6 separate regions of the Homo sapiens genome follow, and all the other regions are linked to region 1. The links are contacts of gene promoters, found by promoter capture Hi-C in human tissues and cell types (Jung and others, 2019). All regions are on one chromosome and are shown on one strand. The core of a region is centred on a gene start or on the middle of the fragment in contact, and the rest is flanking DNA. Distances in the headings are between cores, read along the strand shown.

Evidence for each region. The method cuts DNA at HindIII sites, captures the fragments that hold promoters and counts their contacts. A contact is called where the count stands out against the background at its distance.
Region 2: a fragment that was not itself captured here is called in contact with the fragment with the promoter of ARRDC5 in region 1 in 1 of the 25 tissues and cell types used here (dorsolateral prefrontal cortex).
Region 3: a contact is called between a fragment that was not itself captured here and the fragment with the promoter of ARRDC5 in region 1, in 1 of the 25 tissues and cell types used here (dorsolateral prefrontal cortex).
Region 4: a contact is called between a fragment that was not itself captured here and the fragment with the promoter of ARRDC5 in region 1, in 1 of the 25 tissues and cell types used here (dorsolateral prefrontal cortex).
Region 5: a fragment that was not itself captured here is called in contact with the fragment with the promoter of ARRDC5 in region 1 in 2 of the 25 tissues and cell types used here (dorsolateral prefrontal cortex and lymphoblastoid cells).
Region 6: a fragment that was not itself captured here is called in contact with the fragment with the promoter of ARRDC5 in region 1 in 3 of the 25 tissues and cell types used here (aorta, spleen and thymus).

Annotation. Positions count from the first base shown.
Region 1 is chr19:4,901,072-4,905,299 of GRCh38, reverse strand. It overlaps ARRDC5 (arrestin domain containing 5), which reads left to right and starts at 2,404. Exons shown (of 3, transcript NM_001080523.3): 1 at 2,404-2,727. The coding sequence starts at 2,475. It also overlaps a transcript of UHRF1 not described here. The HindIII fragment of the contact is 23,961 bases long and covers 1-4,228 here.
Region 2 is chr19:4,414,307-4,418,534 of GRCh38, reverse strand. It overlaps CHAF1A (chromatin assembly factor 1 subunit A), which reads right to left. Exons shown (of 15, transcript NM_005483.3): 4 at 459-515. Among named protein-coding and RNA genes, the nearest start is that of CHAF1A, 14 kb to the right of the region's middle. The HindIII fragment of the contact is 3,051 bases long and covers 809-3,859 here.
Region 3 is chr19:5,346,815-5,351,042 of GRCh38, reverse strand. No RefSeq gene overlaps it. Among named protein-coding and RNA genes, the nearest start is that of PTPRS, 8.1 kb to the right of the region's middle. The HindIII fragment of the contact is 4,016 bases long and covers 1-3,994 here.
Region 4 is chr19:5,252,635-5,256,862 of GRCh38, reverse strand. It overlaps PTPRS (protein tyrosine phosphatase receptor type S), which reads left to right. Exons shown (of 38, transcript NM_002850.4): 9 at 744-755. Among named protein-coding and RNA genes, the nearest start is that of PTPRS-AS1, 77 kb to the right of the region's middle. The HindIII fragment of the contact is 3,689 bases long and covers 59-3,747 here.
Region 5 is chr19:5,236,192-5,240,419 of GRCh38, reverse strand. PTPRS (protein tyrosine phosphatase receptor type S) reads left to right here. Exons shown (of 38, transcript NM_002850.4): 12 at 88-221; 13 at 1,357-1,501. Among named protein-coding and RNA genes, the nearest start is that of PTPRS-AS1, 61 kb to the right of the region's middle. The HindIII fragment of the contact is 6,554 bases long and covers 1-4,228 here.
Region 6 is chr19:5,165,094-5,169,321 of GRCh38, reverse strand. No RefSeq gene overlaps it. Among named protein-coding and RNA genes, the nearest start is that of PTPRS-AS1, 11 kb to the left of the region's middle. RefSeq lists a silencer at 3,543-3,762. The HindIII fragment of the contact is 5,500 bases long and covers 1-4,228 here.

The DNA of each region.
Region 1 (4,228 bases), core at 1,155-3,654:
AAAATACAAAAAAAAATTAGCCGGGCATGGTGGCACATGCCTGTAGTCCCAGCTACTCGGGAGGCTGAGGCAGGAGAATGGCGTGAACCTGGGAGGCAGAGCTTGCAGTGAGCCGAGATCACACCACTGCACTCCAGCCTGGGCGACTGAGCAAGACTCTGTCTCAAAAAAAAAAAAAAAAAAAAAAAAAAGAAAGTTTACGAATTTGTGTTGAGCCATATTCCATCCTGGGCCAAATGTGGCCCGTGGGTCAGGGGTTGGATGAGCTTGACTTAGGGAAATAAGAGGCCAATGCCCACAAAAGCTATCACATAAAATAATGCAAGATACAGCCAAGACAAGAAATAAGGCCTGCCAGGCTAGAGAATGGGTACTTCCTAGCCCCTCCTATGATTCAATGTCCCTCCCTCTCAGGCACCAGACCATGTGCAAATCAGGTGCCAGGAATAATTGTTAGAGTGCAAAGGGCTTCAGTTTCCCTTTTGCAAAATGATACATTCTCAGAGGTCATTAAGTCATTCAACAAACTTTTATTGATTCCACCCCCCACACCCACTCCTGGCTGAGCCAGATCCTGCCTGGGTCACGCAGACATTGATGGGCACAAAGTTCACTTAGACAAGGTCTCACCCTGGAGGGACTTCCCATCCAATGGGGGAGATGCAGGCATAAAGAGAAATGTCAGCCAGGCGTGGTAGCTCATGCCTGTAATCCCAGCACTTTGGGAGGCCAAGTGAGGCGGGTGGATCATGAGGTCAGGAGTTCAAGATCAGCCTGGCCAAGATGGTGAAACCCTGTCTCTACTAAAAATAACAAAAATTGGCTGGGTGCGGTGGCTCACGCCTGTAATCCCAGCACTTTGGGAGGCCAAGGTGGGCGGATCACGAGGTCAGGAGATTGAGACCATCCTGGCTAACATGATGAAACCCCGTCTCTACTAAAAATACAAAAAATTAGCCAGGCATTTGTGGCGGACGCCTGTAGTCCCAGCTACTCGGGAAGCTGAGGCAGGAGAATGGCATGAACACGGGAGGCGGAGCTTGCAGTGAGCCGAGATCGCACCACTGCACTCCAGCCTGGGTGACAAAGTGAGACTCCAATCTCAAAAAAAAAACAAAAACAAAAACAAAAAGAACAAAAATTAGCCGGGCACGGGGGCAGGTGCCTGTAACCCCCATGCCCGTAATCCCAGCTACTTGGGAGGCTGAGGCAGGAGAATCGCTTGAACCCAGGGGGCAGAGGTTGCAGTGAGCCGAGATCACGCCACTGCACTCCAGCCTGGGCAACAGAGTGAGATTCCACCTCAAAAAAAAAGAGAAATGTCAATCATGCAGGGAGTTGCTGCTTCCTGATGGTGTCGATGTTCAGATTAAGCACACACTGCCCTGATCAACTTCAGTGCGCACCAGATTTCAGGTCCTGGCCATATCTCTATGTTTTTTCCAATATAGACCAATATAAATGTAGAGTCTTTAAGATGAAAATGAGTGTGTATGCACCTGGGCACAGTGGCTCACAACTGTAATCCCAGCACTTTGGGAGGCCAAGGCAGGCGAATCATGTGAGGCCACAAGTTCGAGACCAGCCTGGCCAACATGGTGAAACCCCGTCTCTACTAAAAATACAAAAATTAGCTAGTTGCAGTGGCACTTGCCTGTAATCTCAGGTACTTGGGGGGCTGAGGTGGGAGAATCGCTGGAACCCAGGAGGCAGAGGTTGCAGTGAGCCGAGATCACACCATTGCACTCCAGTCTGGCTGACAGAGTGAGACCATCACAAAAAATAAAAATAAAATAAATAAAAATACCAAAAAAAAATTAGCAAAGCATGGTGATGGTGCATGCCTGTAATTCCAGCTACTCAGGAGGCTGAAGCAGGAGAATTGCTTGAACCCGGGAGGCAGATGTGGCAGTGAGCCGAGATCGCGCCACTACACTCCAGCCTGGGTGACAGAATGAGACTTTGTCTCAAAAAAAGAAAAAGCCCAGGTGCAGTGGCTCACGCCTGCAATCCCAGCACTTTGGGAGGCTGAGGTGGGTGGATCACGAGGTCAGGAGATCGAGACCATCCTGGCCAACACAGTGAAACTCTGTCTCTACCAAAAAATTAGCTGGGCATGCTGGCATGCACCCGTGGTCCCAGCTACTCAGGAGGCTGAGGCAGGAGAATTGCTTGAACCCATGAGGCGGAGGTTGCAGTGAGCCAAGATGGCACCCCTGCACTCCAGCCTGGGCTACAGGGTAAGACTCCATCTCAAAAAAAAAAAAAAAGAACCAGTGAGGACTACAGGTTTCCCAATCAACCACCCACCCTAAACAACAGTTTTGCCTCCCCTCCTGGCCACTGGGGTCCCCACTTCCCGGAACTCTGAGCTGAGTGATGTCATAGATGGATTACCTCACTAGGGCCAACGAACCGGGAATTTCAGGGACATGGGGGACAGAGAGGAATGTCTCTCTACCCCCCAACCCCCCATGTCTGTGGTGAAGTCGATCGAATTAGTGCTGCCCGAGGATAGAATCTACCTGGCTGGCTCCAGCATAAAAGGGCAGGTGATCTTAACCCTGAACAGCACCCTGGTGGACCCCATAGTGAAGGTGGAGCTCGTGGGAAGGGGTTACGTCGAATGGAGTGAAGAAGCCGGGGCATCCTGTGATTATAGCAGAAATGTTATTTGCAACAACAAGGCAGACTACGTGCATAAGACAAAGACATTCCCAGTGGAGGGTAAGGACGAGGCCAACAGCCACCCCTAGCCATGACAGGAACCTGGGTCTGGAAAATAAACACATCCGAGAGTCAATCAACAAAACTCTAGGGCTATCAGAAATAGGGAGTGGCCTGATTTCTCCCTAGGAGGGAGGCCATGAAGAACAATGACCATCAGATACACAAAACGCAAAAATAACAAGACATAAGGAGCTGATCGGAACCCCGATATTCAAAATGAAGGTTCAAAGTAGTCTCCTTGGAAAATGCTCAATCCAACAACTGCCTTTGAGAGGCCTCTGAGAAGTCTTATTCTTTTACAGATAAGTTTCACTCTGACAGCAAAACCCCAGGAGACAAAGTAGGCAGTCCTGCATTCATGGGGAGAGACAGTGGAGGTGGGCCAGGCACAGTGGTTCATACCTGTAATTCCAGCACTTTGAGAGGCCGAGGCAGGTGGATCACTTGAGGTCAGGAGTTTGAGACCAGCCTGGCCAATATAGCGAAACCCCATCTCTACCAAAAAATACCAAAAAATTAGCTGGGCGTGCTGGCACGTGCCTGTAATCTCAGCTACTTGGGAGGCTGAAGCAAGAGAATCACTTGAACTCGTGAAGGGGAGGTTCCAGTAAGCTGAGATCGCACCACAGCACGCCAGCCTGGGTGACGGAGCGAGATTCCCTCTCAAAAAAAGAAAGATAGTGGAGGTAGAAGAGCAAGGGAGACCTTCCAGAGAAGGAATAACTAGTCCCCAGTTCCACCAGGTCAGATCTGAAATCTGAACAAATGTCAGAGAGTCTGCTGAGTTGTCGGGGAAATTATATGTCCATTGCAAAATGTGTTTGTGGGGATATTCCCAGGTATTAAGCAGTCAAGCAGAACACGTGGCCAACACTTGGCTGAACAAAGTGTAATTTAATTTAATTTATTTCTGTATTTATTTATTTGTATCTTATTTATTTATTTATCTATTTTTTGAGACACAGTCTCGCCCTGCTTCCCAGGCTGGAGTGAAGTGGCACCATCTCGGCTCGCTGCAAGCTCCGCCTCCCGGGTTCAAACGATTCTCCTGCCTCAGCCTCCTGAGTGGCTGGGATTACAGGCACCCGCCACCATGCCCAGCAATTTTTGGTATTTTTAGTAGAGGCAGGGTTTCACCACGTTGGCCAGGCTGGTCTCGAACTCCTGACCTCGTGATTCGCCCACCTCGGCCTCCCAAAGTACTGGGATTACAGGCATGAGCCACCAGGCCTGGCTTATGTATTTATTTTTGAGACAGGGCCTCGCTCTGTTGCCCAGGCTAGAGGCCAGTGGTGTGATCAAAACTCACTGCAGCCCCAGCCTCTCTGGCATAAGCGATCCTCTCACCTCAGCCTCCTGAGTAGCTGAGACCACAGGCACATGGCACCATGCTTGGCTAATTTTTGTTTATTTTTTGTTTTCGTTTTTTTGAGACGGAGTTTTGCTCTTGCTGCCCAGGCTGGAGTGCAATGGCGCAATCTCGGCTCACCGCAACCTC
Region 2 (4,228 bases), core at 1,085-3,584, 490 kb after region 1:
CTGAGCCAGGAGAATGGCGTGAACCTGGGAGGTGGAGCTTGCAGTGAGCCGAGATCGCACCACTGCACCCCAGCCTGGGTGGCAGAGCGAGACTCTGTCTCAAAAAAAAAAAAAAAAAAAAAAAAGAGACAGGACTACAAGGAAATGGACTGGGTTTTTGGAAGGTAATTTGAAGCTACAATGGGATACTGAACCATTAAGACAGTGGTAGCACTATTGATAAAAGCTTAGAAAAGGCCACACACAAAACCTTAGGACTCACTCAGCAAGCCAAAAAATGACACAATCCACAAACCATGAAGTCCAAGTACTTAAAATGAAGCAGGAATCAAAATGATGGTCAGAGAAGGCTGGGGAAAATGTAAAAACTAGACCAAAGGAACTTCAAAGGGCTTTGCTTACTATTTAATGCAAAAAGCACAGCAGGTTAATTTTCTATTTCAGGGAAAATGTCTTACTCTTTGCAGTCTGAGCTTGTTCTTCTCTGTAGAGCCTTTGACGAATTTCTTAGTTATCTGAAAACAGAAGACGTTTATCTTTAAACACGGGTTATTTCAATTGCTTCGAGAAAAAGAGAAACCTTTCCAGGTGATCAGTTTTTCCACCAACAGAACCAAAATGTCATAATAGGGTCACAAACTCCAGTAAGTGTGCATACATGTGTGTATCTGGGATTAGATAACAAGAGAGACTACGGAGGCAGATAAAGAAATGAGTGAAGGACACCAAGCACAAGAAAAACAAGGCAAGCTCAGAAATAAAGGCAACAGACAAGGCTGGGCGCGGTGGCTAACGCCTGTAATTCCAGCACTTTGGGAGGCCGAGGCAGACAGATCACCTGAGGTCAGGAGTTCGAGACCAGCCTGGCCAACGTGGCAAAACCCCATCTCTACTAAAAATACAAAAATTAGCCGAGCGTGGTGGCAGGTGCCTGTAATCCCACCTACTCAGGAGGCTGAGGCAGAAGAATCGCTTGAACCCAGGAGAAGGAGGTTGCAGTGAGCCGAGATTGCGCCACCATACTCCTGCCTGGGCAACAGGGTGAGACTCTGTCTTAAAAAAAAAAAAAAAAAAAAAGCGACAGCTGGCCTGGGCGACAGGGAGAGGATGGATTTGTAGCAAAGGAGAGAGGACCTGCCTGTCCAAAGGAGATGGAGTTCTTACAGGAATATAGATCCCTATTTGCTGGTCCTTCCAATTTCTCCAAGAGAAGCTGATATTAGGAATTTCATATGAATTTTTTTAGGTGTTTAAAAATGGACACAGACGGGCACAGTGGCTCATGCCTGTAATCCCAGCACTTTGGGAGGTCAAGGCGGGAGGATCACTTGAGCCCAGGAGTTCAAGACCAGCCTGGGCAATAAAGCAAGACCCTGTCTCTAAAAAAAGCTTTTAGTTAGTCGGGTGTTGTGGTGCACATCTGTAGTCCTAGCTACCCAGGAGTCTGGGGTGGGAGGAGCCCGGGAGGTTGAGGCTGCACTGAGCTGTCCAACCTGGGTGACAGAGTGAGACTGTCTAAAAAAAAAATAAAAAGATACTAAATTAATCAAATAAAACATGTCTCCAGGCTGGTTTCCTGTGCACCACTAATTTACATTCTGTCTAGCTCAACTCTGCTTTTTATTTTAATGTTATTTTTGAGATGGAGTCTTACTCCTGTCACAGAGGCTGGAGTGCAGCGAGTGCCACGATCTCGGCTCACTGCAACCTCTACCTCCCAAGTTCAAGCGATTCTCCTGCCTCAGCTTCTTGAGTAGCTGGGATTATAGGCGTGTGCCACCACACCTGGCTAATTTTTGTATTTTTAGTGGAGATAGGGGTTTCATCATGTTGGCCAGGCTGGTCTCGAACTCCTGACCTCAGGTGATCCACCCGCCTCGCCTCCCAAAGTGCTAGGAATTCAGGCGTGAGCCACCGCGCCCAGCCAACTCTGCTTTTTAGAATGTGGAGTGAAAGCTTAAGACAAAAGGGAAACTTGCTGGGGTTTTCTAGGACTTCTACCTTCTAGGGCACAATATTTTCTATCACCTACCTTCAAACTGAGCATGAGCTACTAGGAATTACCAATAGGATCCATGGTGTGACTCACCATCCACCTAAATGGTCCCAGGAAGGAAGACGAACAGGGAGTCTGGACTTTGGCCTAAGCTATCTCCCACCGGGGCAGGGAATCCTGAAAACCAAACTAGTAGAAGTGAAGAGCAATGGGAAGAGACGCTTAAGAGTGGGAAGAAATAGTTCTCCGGGTTCATTGCAGACTTGCAGTGTAAGACTGAAGTTGACTGAAAAACCAAAGGCCCATTTTCCTGGCAATGGTCTGAGGGGTCAACAAAATTATGTAAGTGATTTCTTTTTTTTTTTGAGACGGAGTCTCGCTCTGTCGCCCAGGCTGGAGTGCAGTGGCGCCATCTCGGATCACTGCAAGCTCCGCCTCCCGGGTTCAAGCGATTCTCCTGCCTCAGTCTGCCCAGTAGCTGGGACTATAGGTGCCCACCACCATGCCTGGGTAATTTTTTTGTATTTTTAGTAGAGATGGGGTTTCACCATGTTAGCCAGGATGGTCTCGATCTCCTGACCTCGTGATCCGCCCGCCTCGGCCTCCCAAAGTGCTGGGATTAAAGGCGTGAGCCACCGCGCCCGGCCAACAGTGATTTCTTTATCTGGGAAAGCTGAACCCCTGACTAGGACCTCTCACAGAATAAAAGCTTCAGATGAATGAGCTCAAGACAGCCTTTCCACCTGGGTCCCACTGAGTCCTTTCTGGACTAAACCTTTCTTTAGGGAAAGGCCGAGCCGTTGTGAGAAGGCTGCCCGTGTTGGCAGGAGCTCTTTCACCACCGAGATCAGGCCAGGGTGTTCAGTCTTTGCTGAGAATGTGGCAACAGAAATGCCAGCCCGAGGCAGCCTCACCAAATGCTGCAGAAAAAGCATCTGTCTCTCCAGCATCTACTCTGCCTGCCAAGGCTGTGTGCCTCTCCCCCACGCTGAGGGATTTAACTGCAGAATATGGGAGCCGCAGCTCTCCGGGGCTGCCCTTTGTGTTCAGAGATTATAATACGGAATGTGGTCTTGGGGTGGCGGGGAATTCAGTTCCTTAGTCTTGCCCATGCCTGAAGCTCAGCTGCAGAATCTCCTGCCTCTTACAATGCCCCCCCTCTGCTGTGAGTCCAGAGATAACAGACTTGATGTGACTGGCAAGAGCCCGCTCAGTAATATCCAACAACCAAAACAGAGCAATTACTGCTTAATTTAAAACTGGTATCTTTTTTGCTTTGCCAAACCCTCAGATGGACCTTGAAGTCTGACAGAACTTTATCTTCTTGAAATTTGACCCAAGTGTTTATAGATCTCACTCTCAAAATTCTATGCAACACTCCCACATTCTACCCAGCTGGAGCCCGGTCAGACAGCACCCTCAACTGCCAAAAACGTGATCCAGGATCCCAGAAGGAAGCCAAAACACAAAAACCGACAATCCCAAGGAGTCGCGACAGAGCTCACTATGTGTGGGCATGAAAATTCCTGCACCCTTTCTCAGATAATCCTCTCAGAGCCTATGGACTCTGATTTTATACTAAAGGGTATCTAATTTCTAAGCCCAGACCAGATAAGCCGCTAAAACCTGACAGCAGGGGAGCGGAGGCAGGGGGGAAAAGAGAAAACCTCCAATTGGCCCAAGCATGAGAGAGTGCAAGCTGGGAAAATAAGAACGCACGCATTGCCTTGAGCTACCAAGACCTCATTCTCCTTAACAGCCCAAGGCCACTTGTAGAAGGAAGCTCAAGGGAACAATCATTTTGTGAAAGCCAAGCACAGAAACAGCAGAACTGAGAAAACAGCTCTGTAACCTACAGCATGTCCACACCATGGGATATCACGCAGCTGTTAAAAAGAGCTCCATCTTTCCATCCCAATATAAAAAACATCTAAGACACCCTTGAGTAACAAAGACAGATATTTACAGTATATGTCATACACAAGGAAACAAAATGATACTGGGTGTTTCCTAGAGATCTCTCTGGATATACAGGACACAGAAAAACACAAGGTGATGATGATGATAATAATGGCAACCTCCTGGGAGAACAGAGGGCTTCAAGGTTTCCATTCTTTTTCCTTTTTGTTTTTTTTTTTTTTTGAGACGGTCTGGCTGTTGCCCAGGCTGGAGCACAGTGGTGCAATCATGACTCACCGCAACCTCTGCCTCCTTGGCTCAAGTGATCCTTCC
Region 3 (4,228 bases), core at 737-3,236, 450 kb before region 1:
TAAATGTCTCATTTTATTTTTTATTTATTTATTGAGACAGGGTCTCACTCTTTCGCCCAGGCTGGAGTGCAGTGGTGCAATCTCAGCTCACTGCAATCTCCGCCTCCTGGGCTCAAGCGATTCTCCTGCCTCAGCTTCCGGAGTAGCTGGGATTAAAGGTGGGCATTGCCACGCCCGGCTAATTTTTGTATTTTTAGTAGAGATGAGGTTTCACTGTGTTGGCCAGGCTGGTCTCAAACTCCTGACCTCAGGTGATCTGCCTGCCTCGGCCTCCCAAAGTGCTGGGATTATAGGTATGAGCCACCACACCTGGCCTAAATGTCTCTTTTTCTTCTTCTTTTCTCTCTCTCTCTCTCTTTTTTTTTTTTTTAAGATGGAGTCTCCTCTGTCGAAGTGTCGAAGGCTGGAGTGCAGTGGCATGATCTCAGCTCACTGCAACCTCCACCTCCCAGGTTCATGTGATTCTCCTGCCTCAGCCTCCCAATTAGCTGGGATTACAGGCATGTGCCACCACACCCGGCTAATTTTTGTATTTTTAGTAGAGATGGGATTTCACCATGTTAGCCAGGCTGGTCTTGAACTCCTGAGTTCAGGCAATCCACCCACCTTGGCCTCCCAAATTGCTGGGATTACAGGCGTGAGCCACCGCGCCCAGTTTAAAGAAACTTCAGGTCATGTGTCCAGCGCTGGATGCAAGTATCAGTGGAATTAAAACACGAGCGCAAGTAACAATGTAACAAGTCAAATGAATAAGGAAGACAAAAAAGTTACAAAGAAAAACAATAAAGACCCAACCATGATATTAACAAATCCTAGGGACATTAACAAGCTCAAGGGGAATCATCTGTTCTTAGACGTGAGTAATTTTGGCAGGCGACCATACCATAGTGTTTCATGCTCAGTGCGTAGAACTTAAAATCACTTTGTGAGGCCAGTGTGGTGGCTCACATCCATAATCCCAGGGCTCCAGGAGGCTGAGGAGGGAGGACCACTTGAGACCAGGAGTTCAAGACCAGCCTGGGCAACACAATGAGACCCCATGTTTACAAAAAAAAAAAATTTTTTTTTAAATTATCTGGGCATAGTGGCACATGTCTATAGTCCCAGCGACTCAGGAGGCTGAGGTGTCAGGATCGCTTGAGCCCAGGAGTTCCAGACCAATCTGGGCAACATGGTGAAACCCCCATTGCTACAAAAAAATACAAAAATGCATTTTGGGAGCCCGAAGTGAGCGGATCATTAGGTCAAGAGATTGACACCGTTCTGGCCAACAGGGTGAAACCTCGTCTCTACTAAAAATACAAAAATTAGCTGGGCGTGGTGGCATGCACCTGTAGTCCCAGCTACTTGGGAGGCCAAGGCAGGAGAATCACTTGAACTCGGGAGGCAGAGGTTGCAGTGAGCCGAGATCGTGCCACTGCACTCCAGCCTGTTGACAGAACGAGACTCCATCTCAAAAAAAAAAAAAAAAAAAAAAGCAGAAATGAGACGGGTGGGCTGGTGCACACCTGTAATCCCAGCTACTTGGAGACTGAGGTGGGAGGATTGTTTGAGTATAGGAGTTTGAGGCTGCAGTGAGCTATGATCATGCAACTACACTCCAGCCTGAGTGACAGAGTGAGACTGTCTTAAAAAACAATAATAAATAAGTTGTAGCCTCTCAAAGTTTCAAGTACCACACTCAGGGCCCACACTGATGGCACTGGAAGGCCCTTGGCTTGGTGAGGCTTGTGGCAGGGGTCCAGATGACACTGCCAGGCATGTCCCTCTGACTCTACACACAATACCCAGCACAGACCCCACCTGGTGGAGAATCCAAGCCTTTCTCCTTGAGAAGGGATGAACCAAGAGGCCCTGTCTGCACCGCCAGCTGGCAGGAGACAACGGAGGCCTGATCTGAATTTGTCATTGCGTCCCCCAGGGAGAGTGGGAGAATAAAGCCCTTGATCTTTACATGTGCCAGCCAGGCCCTAGAGCTGGGAGGCTGGCTGCATGGCATCCCCTTGCCTCTCCCAAAACCTGGATCTTATTGCAATCAACAAAGGGTGCTCATGATTTATGGGCTAGGGTCTAGCATCTCTTGTCATATGTCATGGGGATGTCAAGCTCCTTGTCCAGGAGTAGGTAAAGTCCTTGAGGGGTATCAGTGAAGCCACTGTCAGGGAAAGGGTCTTTTATGGGGTTGAACTGCGTTCCCCCAAAAGAGATGTTGAAGTCCTAACCCCTAGGACCTCAGAATGTGACCTTATTTGGAAATAGGGTCTTCACAGAAGTAAAGTTAAAATGAGGGCATTAGGGTGGGTCCCGATCCACCCTATGATCCACCTTATGATGGGTGTCCTTATAAAAAGGGGAAATCTGGACACAGAGACAGACCCACATATAGGGGAAATGATGTGAAGAAGAGATACAAGGAGAAGGCGGCCCATCTGCAAGCCAAGGAGTGAGGTCTCAGAAGTAACCAATCCTGGGCAGGCGTGGTGGCTCATGCCTATAATCCCAGCACTTTGAGAGGCCCAGGTGGGTGGATCACCTGAGGTCAGAAGTTCAAGACCAGCCTGGCCAACATGGCAAAAACAATTTTTTTTTGGAGATGGAGTTTCACTGTTGCTGCCCAGGCTGGAGTGCAATAACATGATCTCCGCTCACTGCGACCTCCGCCTCCCAGGATCAAGCGATTCTCCTGCCTCAGCCTCCTGAGTAGCTGGGATTACAGGTGCCTGCCACTACCCACACCTGGCTAATTTTTTGTATTTTTTTTTAGTAGAGATGGGGTTTCTCCATGTTGGCCAAGCTGGTTTCAAACTCCTTACCTCAGGTGATCCACCCGCCTCGGTCTCCCAAAGGGCTGGGATTACAGGCATGAGCCACCACACCCAGCCAGGATGTGTTACTTCCGAGGTCTCGCTCCTTGGCTTGCAGACGGCCGCCTTCTCCCTGTGTCTCTTCTTCACATCATCTCCCCTCTATATGGGTCTGTCTCTGTGTCCAAATTTCCCCTTTGTATAAGGGACATCATCATCACCAATCATCCACATTTTAGAACATTTTTAAACATTTTTATTTTATTTTAGAACATTTTTAACATTTTAATTTTAGAATATTTTAATCACCTGGAAAGGAACCTCAAAAGAATCCATTGCCTAATTCAAGATCATTAAGATTTATTCCTCTGCATTTTTTCCTAAGAGTTTTATAGTTTAAGCTCTTCCATTTAGGTCTATCATCCATGTTGAGTTGATTTTTGTATATGGTGTGAGGTGGGGATTCAACTTCATTCTTTAGCATGTGAATATGGAATTGTCCTGGCCCCACTTGTTGAAAAGACTATTCTTTCCCCACTGAATTGACAACTTGATGGAAATCAATTGACCATAGATATGAGGGTTTTTTCTGCACTTTCAATTCTACCCCATTGATCTGAATGTCTATTCTTATGCCAGTACATCATTGTCCTGGTTACAGTAGGTTGTAATAAGTTTTGAAATTGGGAAGTCTGAGTCCTCCAACTTTGTTCTTTTTCAAGATTGTTTTGGCTGTTCTAAGTTCCTCGAACATTTTCACATGAATTTTAGGATCAGCTTGCCAATTTCTGCAAAGAAGCTAACTGAAATTTTGATAGGGATTGGGTTTAATCTTTAGATCAATTTGGGGAGTATAGACATCTTAACAATATTATTCTTCCAATCCATGAGCATGGGATGTCTTTCCATTTAGTTAAGTCTTCTTTAATTTAATCTTTCAACCTTTTGTTATTTTTTATAGTATAAGCTTTGCACTTCTTTTGGAAATATATTCCTAAGTATTTTATTCTTTTTCATCAATTGTAAATGGAATTGGTTTCTTAATTTCATTTCGTTTGTTCATTGCCACTGCATAGGAAATACAATGGATTTTTGTGTATTGATTTCATATCTTGCCGCCTTGATGAATTCATTTACTAGTTTTATAGGTCTTTAGTGGATCCCTTAGGATTTTCTACATGCAAAATGATGTCATGTGCAAATAGAGATAGTTTAATTTCTTCCTTTCCAATATGAATGCCTTTTATGTTATTTTCTCACCTAGTTGCCTGGTTATAGGCTTCAGTACAATGTTGAATAGAAGTGGTGGGAGGGAGCATTCTCATCTTGTTCCTAATCTTACGGGGAAAACATCCAGTCTTTCACCATAAAGTATGATACTGACTGTAGATGCCTTTTACTAGGTTGAGAAAGCTTCATTCTGT
Region 4 (4,228 bases), core at 654-3,153, 350 kb before region 1:
CCACCTTCGTCCCTACCATCCACAGCACCCGCTGGCCCTGAAGTGATTCCTTGGTCCTGGACCTGGGGTTTTGCATTTTGTCTCTGAGGAGGAGGTCGCATGGAGGGGGAGGGGATGGGGATGTGGGTGTATGGACGGGTGGTGGGTAGGGGCACGTCTGATCCACTGTCACGGCACCTCTGGTGAGTTGTAATGCGTTCGTGACTCCAACTGACTGGTCTTCACCTAACCTGCTTATTTCTCTGCCAACACCTGGGATGGGGGTTTGTAAATCCAGCAGGGCTCAAAAGAGTGTGGACAGCGGGTGTGGGGCAGGGAGCCGGGTGGGGCCTTTAGTGAGGGTGCAAGAAGGGAGGGGGGCTTCTGTGTCCTCATCCCCCAGAGGTGGGGTCCCCAGCATGAGCCTCCATCCTCTTGGGGACAGTTGAGGGGGTGAGGTTCTGTTTCCCCATCTTTGCCTGGGTCTTAGATGCTCCAGAATCAAGCTTAGAAAAGAATGGAGAAAGGCAAATGTAGTAGATCTTGTATGTTGAGGGCAGAGTGGAGAGAAGACAAAAAGGTCATTGCTGTTCTTTTTATTTTTTAATTTTAATTTTTTTTTTTGGTTTAAAGAAAAAAAAAACAACAAACTATTGCAGCTTTTAGCCTTGGGAAGTCCTCTTTTTACTCTCTGTATCTCCCCTATTTTTTCTCTTCTTCCCATGTCATTGTGTTCTGCATCAAACCCCCTTTACATCCCTCAGAGCTTCGAGAAGGTTGGTGTGTTTTTTTCTTTTTTACTTTCTTTACCCACATTTTTACATTCTGAAAATGACACGCACACACACAAAACACATGTAGACACCACACGGACACACGCTGACACACACACGGAAAAAAAATAGAAAAATGAACAACAATTTTAAAAGATGGAATATGAATCATAAGCACAAAGCAAACTAAACAAAAAACCGCCAAGCGAGCGCAAAACCCAGAAAGACACGAAAATCTCAGCCGCGCCCAGCCCGGCCTAGGGCCGGCCGCACACATGCGATGCTTGCATTATGGTCGCCTCTGCATCCGTTGGTAATGTTGTTGCTAAGTTTTTTGCACTCCTCGTCGTCATGGTAACTTGGGCCTGATGCATGCTGGGAGAATGTAAAAATTTCTCTGCATGCCTCTCTTGTCGGTTTGGTTTGGTGAATTCCCAACGCCTTCTGTTGGAGTGTTTCTCGTCTTCTGTTCTGTTTTTCTCTTTTGGTTTTCTTTTTTCCTTTTTCTTTTTTTTTTCTTTTTTCTTTTTTTCTTTGGTTTTGTTTCGTTTTGGGGGGAAAAAATCAAATGGTTCTTTTTTCCCCTCCCATTCCCTTCACCTGGTCCTCTTCTCCCCCAAAGCGACTCGTCTTTGGTTCTGTCTTGTGTCTGTGCTATTTGGTTTTGGTTTCTTGGGTTGAGCTGTTCTGTGGTTGTTCTCCAAACGCATTGTGATTTAAAAGCCAGTGTTCCTGTCCCAGCTATCATCCAGGAGGGCAGAAGGGGTCCCACAGCTGGGATGCCAGGGCAGAAAGTGACCACTTAGGCACAAGGGCACAAGGGAGGTGGCACAGACAGATGGCAGGAGGTCAGAACATGGGTGGGGTGTGTGGAGAGAGCAGCCCAATTTTCCTGACCTCACTGGCCAGCTCCTCTTTCCCCAGAGGTAGTAACTCAGCTCCCTGCCTCCAGGCAGCCATGTTGGAAGGAAGCTTAAGCAGGCATGTTCCCATCCTTCTACCTCAGAATGAGACTGCCTCCTGCGCTCCCAAATAAGCCCAAACCCAGGCATTTGAAGTACTGCTGAATGTGCACTAGCATTTTGAGTTCTTATTCATTTTAGTGACATATCCAAACATGGATTATGGTCAGTTTTAAATGAGGGGAGAGGACAATAACAGCACCATTTTCACAGGACCATGCATACTCGGTGTGTAATTGGCACTCAAAATGGCAGCTGCTGTGATGACTGTATGCATTCTGGCTGGGTACCAATCCAGAAGTGCCCATTAGGAAATGTAGCCTGACAGACTTTGGAAGAAAGACTTGGCCAATTATCTGACCTGGAACACTATGCCTCTGCCTCCCAGGCAGCACTGGCTGCTTCCCCCATCCCCTCTCAGACTCTGAGCCCGGTCACAGGCGTCTTTTGTCCAGCAACACAGCATGGTCACTTTCTGAGTACCTGAGCATCAGAGCTGTGGAATTCTGGAAAAAGCCCAGGGGAACCTTGGACACAGCCTCTCCCCTGCTCTCTCTGCCTCCCCAACTCTCCCTCTGCTTCTCTTTCTCTTTTTCAACTCTCTTTCTCTCTGTGTGTCTCTCACTCTTGCAAATCTTCAGAGATGCACACCCCCATCTTCTGCTCCCCTCCCCAAGAAAAGGCACGCCCTTGAGAGTCTTACTCCAACCCCCAATAAAAAACACCCCCCAATAAAATATCCGTGTAGATTTTTAACCACCAACCCCAGCTGACTACCCCGTTTAGACGATGTTGAGGACAGAAGCCAGACTTTGGAATCACCTTTTCCCCCTCTTGTCCCTCACTCACCTTCTCCAAACTTACCAATTATTAAATCCTGGACCAAGTTGGCAAGAGGACTTTAGATGCAGTAAGATTTGCTTATTAACCCAGCATGCGAGCTGCCAGGCTGACCCTCAGAGCAGTGCCAAAAGATGGCAGAAAGGGGTCTCCCAGCCCCTCCACCAAAGCTAGGTGCTGGTGCATTGGAACTGAGTGAACAGAGGGTCTCTGAAGACCACTTGGACTTTCTGGGCAGTACAGCCCAGAAAGTGATGAGAGCATAGGCTCTGGACTCTGGCAGACCTGGATTCCAGTTTTGTCTGTGCCCCTCCCTGGCTACGTGACCTTGAACTAGTCATTTGACCACTTGGAGTCCCCACTTCCTCATCTGAACAGTAGAGATCATAAATGAACCTTGATCACAGGGTAGGTGAAAGGATTTCATTGAACTAAGTGCTCTGTGTAACAAGCATTCCCAGTAGGATTGTTGTAAATAAAGGATTCAAGCAAATGATCTGGGCAAGTCACTTCCCTTCTTTGTGGGTCTTAGTTTCCCTGTTATGTACTTCACATGTCCACTGTTTGAATAAGATGGCATATGGGAAACTTTTAAAAATAATTGTAGGGCAGAAGCTAATTCATTTGCTCAGACCTCATTTTTCGCTAGTGCTTTCCTGAGCTCATCTCATGATCTCATTTTCTCCTGGCTCCAGCCCCATCCCCATGAGATCAGCGGACTACCCAGAGCCATAGCTCTCATTTTCCCCACTGTCATTTCCTAGGAAGTTCTGTGGCCACAGAAAGGGACAACAAAGGCCCATATTAAGTACAAGGCTACCCTTGCAGATAAGTACCAGCCCACCAGAAGAGATGGGCTACCTGGCATGTTCTGAAAGCTACAAGTATTTACATTGTTGCCAGAGCAGCCAGTCACAGGAATTAATTGCAAAAAGGGGAAAAAATGCAACCCCTAATCTCACTCTTATTTATTTTCTAAACTGACAGATCTCCAGCTTTGGCTGACTCTGGGTGGTACAGGGGGTAAAATATTCAGGCTTGCCCTTCTCCTCCTGAAATTTATCTCTGGGATCCAAAGGGCTTAAGTCAAAATGTGTCCATTTTTAAAAATACAGCTGGCAGCTCCACTCCCAGCTGTAGTTGAATTCTCCCTCCTCCGACTTTTGACAAGGTGGGAAGATGATCAGATTATATTCTCCCTGACTATGAATGTTCTTTTCTGGTTCTTTAAAACTCTAAGCCTTTAGAGTATGAGTTAGTGGCTAAAGGTAGTGTCTTTACTGCCTGGTCTTGCAACATAGCATTATTGAAACGTAGTGCACAGGACCCATGTAAATGGTTTGCCACCCTCTGATGCCAGGGGAACTTGGAAAAAGCTGGAGACATCAGGAGGAATTTTCTTTTTCTTTTACTTTTTTTTTTTTTTTTTTTTTTTGAGATGGAGTTTCACTCTTGTCACTCAGGCTGGAGTGCATTGACGTGATCTCGGCTCACTGCAACCTCCTCCTCCTGGGTTCAATGATTCTCCTGTCTCAGCCTCCCAAGTAGCTGGGATTACAGTTGCCCTCCACCACGCCTGGCTAATTTTTGTATTTTTATTAGAGACAGGGTTTTGCCATGTTGGCCAGGCTGGTCTCCTGACCTCAGGTAATCTACCTGCCTCGGCCTCCAAAA
Region 5 (4,228 bases), core at 944-3,443, 340 kb before region 1:
TCTTTTAGTGGGGACACTCAGCAGGTGGGGCCCCCTTTGTGGGGTGGACGCTCCCCGACTCCTAGTTGTCTCCCTGCACCCCCACAGTGCCGGGCCAGCCCATGAACCTGCGGGCCGAGGCCAGGTCGGAGACCAGCATCACGCTGTCCTGGAGCCCCCCGCGGCAGGAGAGTATCATCAAGTACGAGCTCCTCTTCCGGGAAGGCGACCATGGCCGGGAGGTGAGGCAGCGCGGGGACGGGCTGGCCTGCCCTGGGCTCCTCCCCGGCGCTCTCTGACGCTGCCCGCCTTGTCTCTTCCCCCTCTTTGTCCCTATGTGTGCTGCGGATTCTGCTCTTCCTCACCCCTTCTGCTTCTCCTGCGTCTCTGTCCCTTTGTGCCTTTCCTCCACTTTTTTCTCCTCTGTCTCATCTCCTTTGTCTTTCTCCTCTGCTGCTGGCGGCCTCTCTCTGGTTCCGTATGTATCGGCGTCCCCATCTCTCTTGATCTGTGCTTCTCTCTGTGTCTTGTCTTCACCGGTGCCTCTGACGCTCACTCTCCATCCCTCCGGGTCTGTTTCTGTCTGTTTATGTCTCTGTCTCTGTTTCTCTTTCTGTCTCTGTTTTCTGTGTGTTTTTTTTCTGTCTCCATCTGTCTCTGTGTTTCTATCCCTCTGCCTCTCTTTCTGTCTCTCTGTCTCTGTCTCTGTATCTGTTTCTTTCTCCTCTCTCTCTATTTCTGTCTCTATCTCTATTTCTGTCTCTCTCTCCTCTCTTTCTCTGTCCCTGTCTCAATCTCTCTCTCCTCCGTTTCTGTCTGTCTCTCTCCCCTGTTTCTCTGTGTTTCTGTCTCTGTCTCTATTTCTCTGTCTCTGTGTGTCTATCTCTGTATCTGTCTCCTTCTCAATTTCTCTATTCCTCTGTCTCTGTATCTCTCTCCTGTTTCTGTCTGTCTCTGTATCTCTCTCTGTCTCTGTCTCTCCCATTTATCTCTGTCTCTGTGTCTGTCTCTCTCCTTTGTTTCTCTGTCTCTATCTCTGTCACTGTGTCCCTCTGTCTCTATCTCTGTCTCTGTGTCCCTCTGTCTCTGACTCTCTCCCCTGTTTCTCTCTGTCTCTGTCTCTCTCCGTCTCTGTCTCTCTCCGTACCCTCTTTTTCTGTCTGTATCTCTGTCTCTACCTCTCTCTCCCCTCTACCTCTCTCCCTCATCCCTCTCTGTCCCTCTCTGCCGCACCCCTGTCTCTATTTCTCTGTCTCTCTCTCTCTCTCTCTCTCTCCCCCTCCCCCCTCTGTTTCTGTCTCTCTCTCTCTCCCCTTTGTTTCTGTCTCTCTCTCTCTCTCCCCCATCCCTCTCTGTCCTTCTCTGCCCTGCCCCCAGGTGGGAAGGACCTTCGACCCGACGACTTCCTACGTGGTGGAGGACCTGAAGCCCAACACGGAGTACGCCTTCCGCCTGGCGGCCCGCTCGCCGCAGGGCCTGGGCGCCTTCACCCCCGTGGTGCGGCAGCGCACGCTGCAGTCCAGTAGGTGTCTCGCGGGGCCGCCCTTCTCTGCGGGAGGGACCACGGCCTGACCGCAGACAGCCCCTCGGCAGACGGACCCAGGCGGGGCCTGCTGCAGTGGGTGGGGGGCGCCTCCCGGCCTGTCTCCGCTTTGTTCCCCGACCTCGGATCCATCTACCCGCGCTGTGCCTCAGTATCCCCATCAGCACAGCGAGGGTCTCAGCATGGGGTTGTCTGTGCCCCTGGGCCTGGTGACCCGGGTTGAGACTTGGGGTCAAGGAGAAGTGGCTGATCTTGGCCCTGGTGTAGGAGAGGTTCTGGGACCACGCCTTCTTTCTCCTCTTTCCATCCTGGAGTGGGGGCTGATTGAAGGGCCACGTTGTGCCCATTTCCCAGGCATTTTGAGGGTACCGTGAGGCTGTGGTCACGGCTCGCACCCCATCATTCTCAGAGCAAAGGACACAGAGACGAACCCACCTTCCCCGTCGGTCTTCCTCCCCCGGGCAGGGAGCCTTGGCTCTCAAGACCCCAGGACGAGGTCCCAGTTCCCGAGGGTGGGGAGGGGGTGGAATCGGAGCCGAGGCCAGGTTTCGTGGGGGCATGCAGGTCCCCACTCGGGGCTCAAATCTCTGGAGTTCTCTGCTGTGCCGGCCCGGCCTCCCTGTTTGGAGCGAGTCACCCTTCACCTGGCAGTTGGCTGTGGGTCACCGCCACCCTCTCTCCCTGACTTCTCTAAACTCGGAGCTGGACAGGCCCCTTCTGCCGTCTCCCCACCTCACCTGCCTCCCTGGCTCCGCTCAGCCCAGCGTGGCCTTCCCTGGTGTGGCCTCCACCGGCGTGGTCTCTCTGTCGTGGCCTCCCCCTGCTTCCCCCTCTTCCCTCCCTTCACCCAGTCAGTCACGGCGTAGCCACCCCAGGCTTTCTTCCAGAATCAGTCATGATGGTCAAACCTTCAAGGCCCGCCCTGGGTGTGTGTACACAGGGGCATCTCGGATCAGTCGAAGGGTTAACATCAACTCCAGCCGGGGCATCTGAGCCGCTGGGATCGGGGGGGTGGGGCGCCTCGGAGACACAACCCCCCTGCCCCCGCCGGCCCCCTTCCCTCCTTCCTGCTCCCCACAAACCAAGCCGAGCTGAGCACCTGGCGGCTCCAAGGCGTCTGGGCGCGTCTGTGTGAGGTGGAGTCAGTGAGGGTGGCCTGTGGCTTGGGCAGCCACCTGAGAGACTGGCTGAGGTGTCCTGAAGGTGAGTACACGCTGGTCTCAAGCAGGTTCACAAAAACGGCCCACCCCGCGTGCCCCCCCGCCTGCCCCAGCCACTCTGGGCTGAACGGACAGTCCACGGCCCGAATTCGGCCCCAGAAACTCTCCCAAACCACGTGCCACCACCATGCCACGCTGCCCACGCACGCACATCCACGTCTTTGCACACATCCCTTCCCGAGATGTCATGCAGGTTGGGCCGGATTGTGAAGGACGTGACCTACACGGTCACCTAGAAAGCGGCTTCGGCCCAGCCACGCGAACCTCCGGGGCGGCCCAGGACAGGGAGTTGGGGAGAAGGGACTCCCCGCTTCTTGCCCCGAGACGGGTGGGGCCCAGGAGAACCGACAGCAAAGACTCAGGGCCAGGCGTATCCATCCCCCCGGGGACTGCGGGCTCCTTAGGCTGAACACAGGGTAGGTGCAGGTCAGACCACTCAGCCGTGGGTCTCCCCAGACACCGTGCCACCTTCCTGCCTCCAGCCTGGAACCTCAGCGTGCGCACGCTGGGGGCTGGAGCAGGGCTGCGGGGCCACTGGCATCCTGAGACCCACCAAGAGTTCGGTCTGGCCTTGTAGCTCAGCGCTCGGCCGTTCCCTCTCTCGTAAGAAAGTCTTTTAAGTTAGCAGTTGAAGAGTGGAAGGTAGGTAACCAGACTGGGCGTTTTCTGGAAGGAGTCTTTCTTTCTTTTATTAAGTTTTTCTCATCATCATCACCATCACTGTTGTTTCTTATTTTATTATGGTTTCGGTTTTATTTTTTCTCCCCCTTTCTCAGCAAATCCATTCCTTCCGACACATTCCTTGATTGTTGTTTTTTTTTTTTTTTTCCCCCTGCTCCCTGCCTGATTCCCCGCACCCCCCGGGCACCTTTGGTTGGTGTGGCTGGTCAAGAAATGGGGAAGGGTTCCCTTTGTCTAGTTTTGGAGGAGGGGCCTCTAATGTTTTGCTTTAAGTGAGGCCGGAGGGTCTCTCTAGTTGAAGTAAGCTGTTGGGGTGGCCTCTGCAGTCTCTGGTAGCCCAGTGTCTCTGAGGACAGGATTCGTCTCTGGGTTTCAGATGCTAGCAGGATAGTGTCCATAGTAAGTACTCAGTAAACATGTGCTCAGCCACCAAGCAAGCTGCTCTGATGGTGAGGGTTTCTAATGCTCTTGCCACGAGCAAGGCCAGTAATCTCTCTGGGCCTCCCTCCAGGGGACGTAGATTCTAAAATCGTGGGCACTTGGGAGAGTGGCTTCCGCCATACCCAACCAGCACAAGGCTGAGATCTGAGCTGCCAACCTCAAACCAAGCCAGCCTGTGAATCACGGCCAAGTCTGGGTTCCAATCCTGGCTCTGCCACCTCATCACTGCATGCCCCTGGACAGGTAGCTTGCTGTTTCTGAGCCTCAGTTTCCTCACCTGTAAAATGGGCTCACCTGTAAAATGGGCTGCACTTCTGGTTTTTCGGCAAGATTGAGAGGTGTTATACAAAATAATGAAAAGCTT
Region 6 (4,228 bases), core at 556-3,055, 260 kb before region 1:
CCCTTTTTTGAGCATTTCCTTATTTTCTGGGAACACAAGATGCTTCAGGTTTATCTTGTGTTTTCTGTTTTTCTTTCTCTCTCTCTCTCTCTCTTTTTTTTTTTTTTTTTTGTTGTTGAGATGGAGTCTTGCTGTATTGCTCAGGCTAGAGTGTAGTGGCATGATCTCGGCTCACCTCCTGGGTTCATGTGATTCTCCTGCCTCAGCCTCCCGAGTAGCTTGGATTACAGGTGCCCACCACCACGCCCAGCTAATTTTTGTATTTTTAGTAGAGATGGGTTTTTGCGATGTTGGCCAGGCTGGTTTCGAACTCCTGACCTCAGGTGATCTGCCCACCTCAGCCTCCCACAGTGCTGGCATTACAGGCATGAGTCACCGAGCCCAGACCCCCATCGAATCATTCATGTAGGCTGGGTATGGCCAACTTTGGGAGGCCAAGGCGGGAGGATCGCTTGAGCCCAGGACTTTAAGACCAGCCTGGGCGACAAAGTGAGACCCCTATCTCTACAAAAAAAATAAAAAATTAGCTGGGCACAGCGGTATGTGCCTGTACCTTGTCTTGTGTTTTCTCTGTCCCAGTCATAAAATCAGTGATTCCTCCCCTGGTTCCTTTTATTGGAGAATGGTATTTAGATCGGGGTGCTAGTATGCTCACTGCTATTGGGGTATCAGATTAGCCATGTGTACACACATCTTTATTTATTTCTTCTTAACATTTTTCTTTTTGTAGGGATGGGGCTGTGCTATGTTGTCCAGGCTGGTCTTGAACTCCTAGCCTCAAGCGATTCTCCCCAAGCCACCCTGGTCTCCCAAATAGCTGGGATTACAAGTTTGAGCCCTTTCACCTGTATTCATAATATAAATATATATACTTACATATTTATTTCTGCATCTATATGTACTGACTATATATTTCTATAACATCTGTCTATATATATATATTAGAAAATCATGGATTGATACTGACACTTTTTTTTTTTTTTTTTGAGACGGAGTCTCGCTATGTCACCCAGGCTGGAGTGCAGTGGCGCAATCTCGGCTCACTGCAAGCTCTGCCTCCTGGGTTCATGCCATTTTCCTGCCTCAGCCTCCCGAGTAGCTGGGACTACAGGCGCCCACAACCACGCCCAGCTAATTTTTTTTTTGTTTTTAGTAGAGACAGGGTTTCACTGTGTTAGCCAGGATGGTCTCGATCTCCTGACGTCATGATCCACCCACCTTGGCCTCCCAAAGTGCTGGGATTACAGGCATGAGCCACTGCGCCCAGCCTATACTGACACTTCTGATTCCAACCAGCACAATGTTCATTCTAGCCGCTTCCTTTACCCTTGACGTAACTTTTTTCGCTGACAGAGAGAAACCTAGCTCATCTACAATTAATTCACTCATTTGCTCAATTGCAATATTCACATATAGTAGGTACAGATGGCTAAGCCATGAGAACTAGATTTTTGAACTAGAGTATAGTGTTGGTGTATAGGTATTTTCATTTTTAGCCTAACAGTATCCAGTGGAAACATTGTTTCCCAAATTTACTGAGATCAACTCCATTCTTCCCCTGGCTCTTCAGTGTGGTTGATTTTCATTTGTGGTGCAGCTGAGTTTATATTTTACTATTTGTTTTCCATTTGGAGTACACATCATATCCTTGATTTTAATCAGTTATCTTTTAAAGTGTGTATAACATGACTATGATTTTTCAGTCAGAGCTATACCAAATGGTTCTCAGAGAGTGGGCACTCCCTCTTCATTCCTGCTACTCTTTTTCCCATACCACTTCCAGCCTCTTTTTTTTTTTTCTTTTCCTTTTTTGCAACAGAGTCTCCCTCTGTTACCCAGGCTGGAGTGCAGTGGCGCGATCTCGGCTCACTGCAAGCTCCGCCTCCCGGGTTCACGCCATTCTCCTGCCTCAGCCTCCCGAGTAGCTGGGACTACAGGCGCCCGCCACCACGCCTGGCTAATTTTTTGTATTTTTAGTAGAGACGGGGTTTCACTGTGTTAGCCAGGATGGTCTCGATCTCTTGACCTCGTGATCCACCTGCCTTGGCCCCCAAAGTGCTGGGATTACAGGCATAAGCTTCCGCACCTAGCCTTTTTTTTTTTTTTTTTTTTTTTTAAGAGATGGGATCTGGCTCTGTCACACAGGCTGGAGTGCAGTAGCACAATCACGAGTCATTGCATCCCTGACCTCCTAGGCTCAAATGATCCCCCTACCTCAGCTTCCTGAGTAGCTGGGACTACAGGTGTGCACCACCACGTCTGGCTAATTAAAAACAATTTTTTTTTCAGAGATAGGGTCCTGCTATGTTGCCTAGACTGGTCTCGAAATCCTGGCCTCAAGCAATCCTCCCACCTTGGCCTCCTAAAGTGCTGAGATTACAGGCATGAGCCACCTTGCCTACTGCCCTAATTCTTTTAAATAATTTCCCACCTGCCCCTGTAGGTAACCAACATCCTTAGTTTCTTGTCTATCCTTCCCGTATTTCTTTTTCATTGAGGTGAGATTCACATAAAGTTAGCCATTTGAAAGTGAACAATTCAGTGACATTTGACACACTCAGTGCTGTGCAGTCACCAATTCTCTTTAATTCCCAAATACCCCCAAAGAAGACCCTATGCCCATTAAATAGCCACTCCTCATTCCCCTGGCCCCAGCTGCTGGCAACCTACAATCCCCTTCCTGTCTCTGTAGATTGACCTGTCCTGGACATTTCATAGATATGGGATCACACACTGTGTGGCCTTTTGTGTCTGGCTTCTTTCACTGAGCATGATGCCAAGGTTCATCCACACTACTGTAGCCTGTGTCAGACCCCCATTCCTTTTAATGGCTGAGTGATATTCCATTGTATGGATGGATCACATTGTGTTTACCCATCCATCAAACAACAGACACTTGGATTGTTTCCACCTTTTGGCCACTGTGAATCATGTTGCTATGACCATGGTGTGCAAACATCTGAGTCTCTGCTTCCAATTCTTTTGGTGTATCCTGGAAGTCAGATTCCTGGGTCATACAGTGACTCTGTGTTTAACTTTTTATTTGAAATGGAGTTTCACTCTTGTCGCCCAGGCTGGAGTGCAATGGTGCGGTCTCAGCTCACTGCAACCCTCCTGGGTTCAATTGATTCTCCTGCCTCAGCCTCCCGAGTAGCTGGGATAACAGGAGCTCACCACCACCCCCAGCTAATTTTTGTATTTTTAGTAGAGATGGAGTTTTACCATGTTGGCCAGGCTGGTCATGAACTCCTGACCTCAGGTGATCCACCCGCCTCGGACTCCTAAAGTGCTGGGATTATAGGCATGAGCCACCAAGCCTGGTCTGTGTTTAACTTTTTGAAGGACTCAGACTATTCCCAGGTACTTTCTTAACACCTGGTAATGTTGATGCTGGCATCTGTCTCCTCTAAAGGGCATGGGCTTTGTGGGGCAAGAACTTGCTGTATCCTCAGTGTCTGGCTCCCCAGTGTGTGTGTGGGCTTGGGAAAAACTAGCACAGTGCAAGGGCTCAGTAGCAGCTGGCAGAATTGATAAGACTGAGAGGTGAGGCCAACTGGACTTCCTGGGTCGAGCGGGGACTTGGAGAACTTTTCTGTCTTACAAGAGGTTTGTAAAATGCACCAATCAGTGCTCTGTAAAATGGACCAATCAGCACTCTGTAAAATGGACCAATCAGCAGGACATGGGCAGGGACAAATAAGGGAATAAAAGCTGGCCGCCCCAGCCAGCAGCAGCAACCCGCTCGGGTCCCCTTCCACGCTGTGGAAGCTTTGTTCTTTTGGTCTTCATAATAAATCTTGCTGCTGCTCACTCTTTGGGTCCGTGCCACCTTTAAGAGCTGTAACACTCACCACGAAGGTCCGCGGCTTCATTCTTGAAGTCAGCGAGACCACGAACCCACTGGAAGGAACCAACTCTGGACACATCTTGGGGGCTTGTCTGGGATATCGCCTTTTGGTGAGTACCATCGGACCCATTTTGCTTGCTATTCTGTCCTATTTTTCCTTAGAATTCAGGGGCTAAACACCGGGCACTTGTCGGCCAGTTAAAAGCAACTAGCGTGGCCACCAGACTAAAGACACTGGTGTCGGGCTTTCTGGGAAAGGGCTCTCTAACAATCCCCAACTCTTTGGAGTTGGGAGCGTTGGTTTGCCTGGAACCAGCTTCCACTTTTCCTGTACTTCCGGACTGAGCCAAGTGTCAACAGAGAGGAAAGCCATTTAGCTCC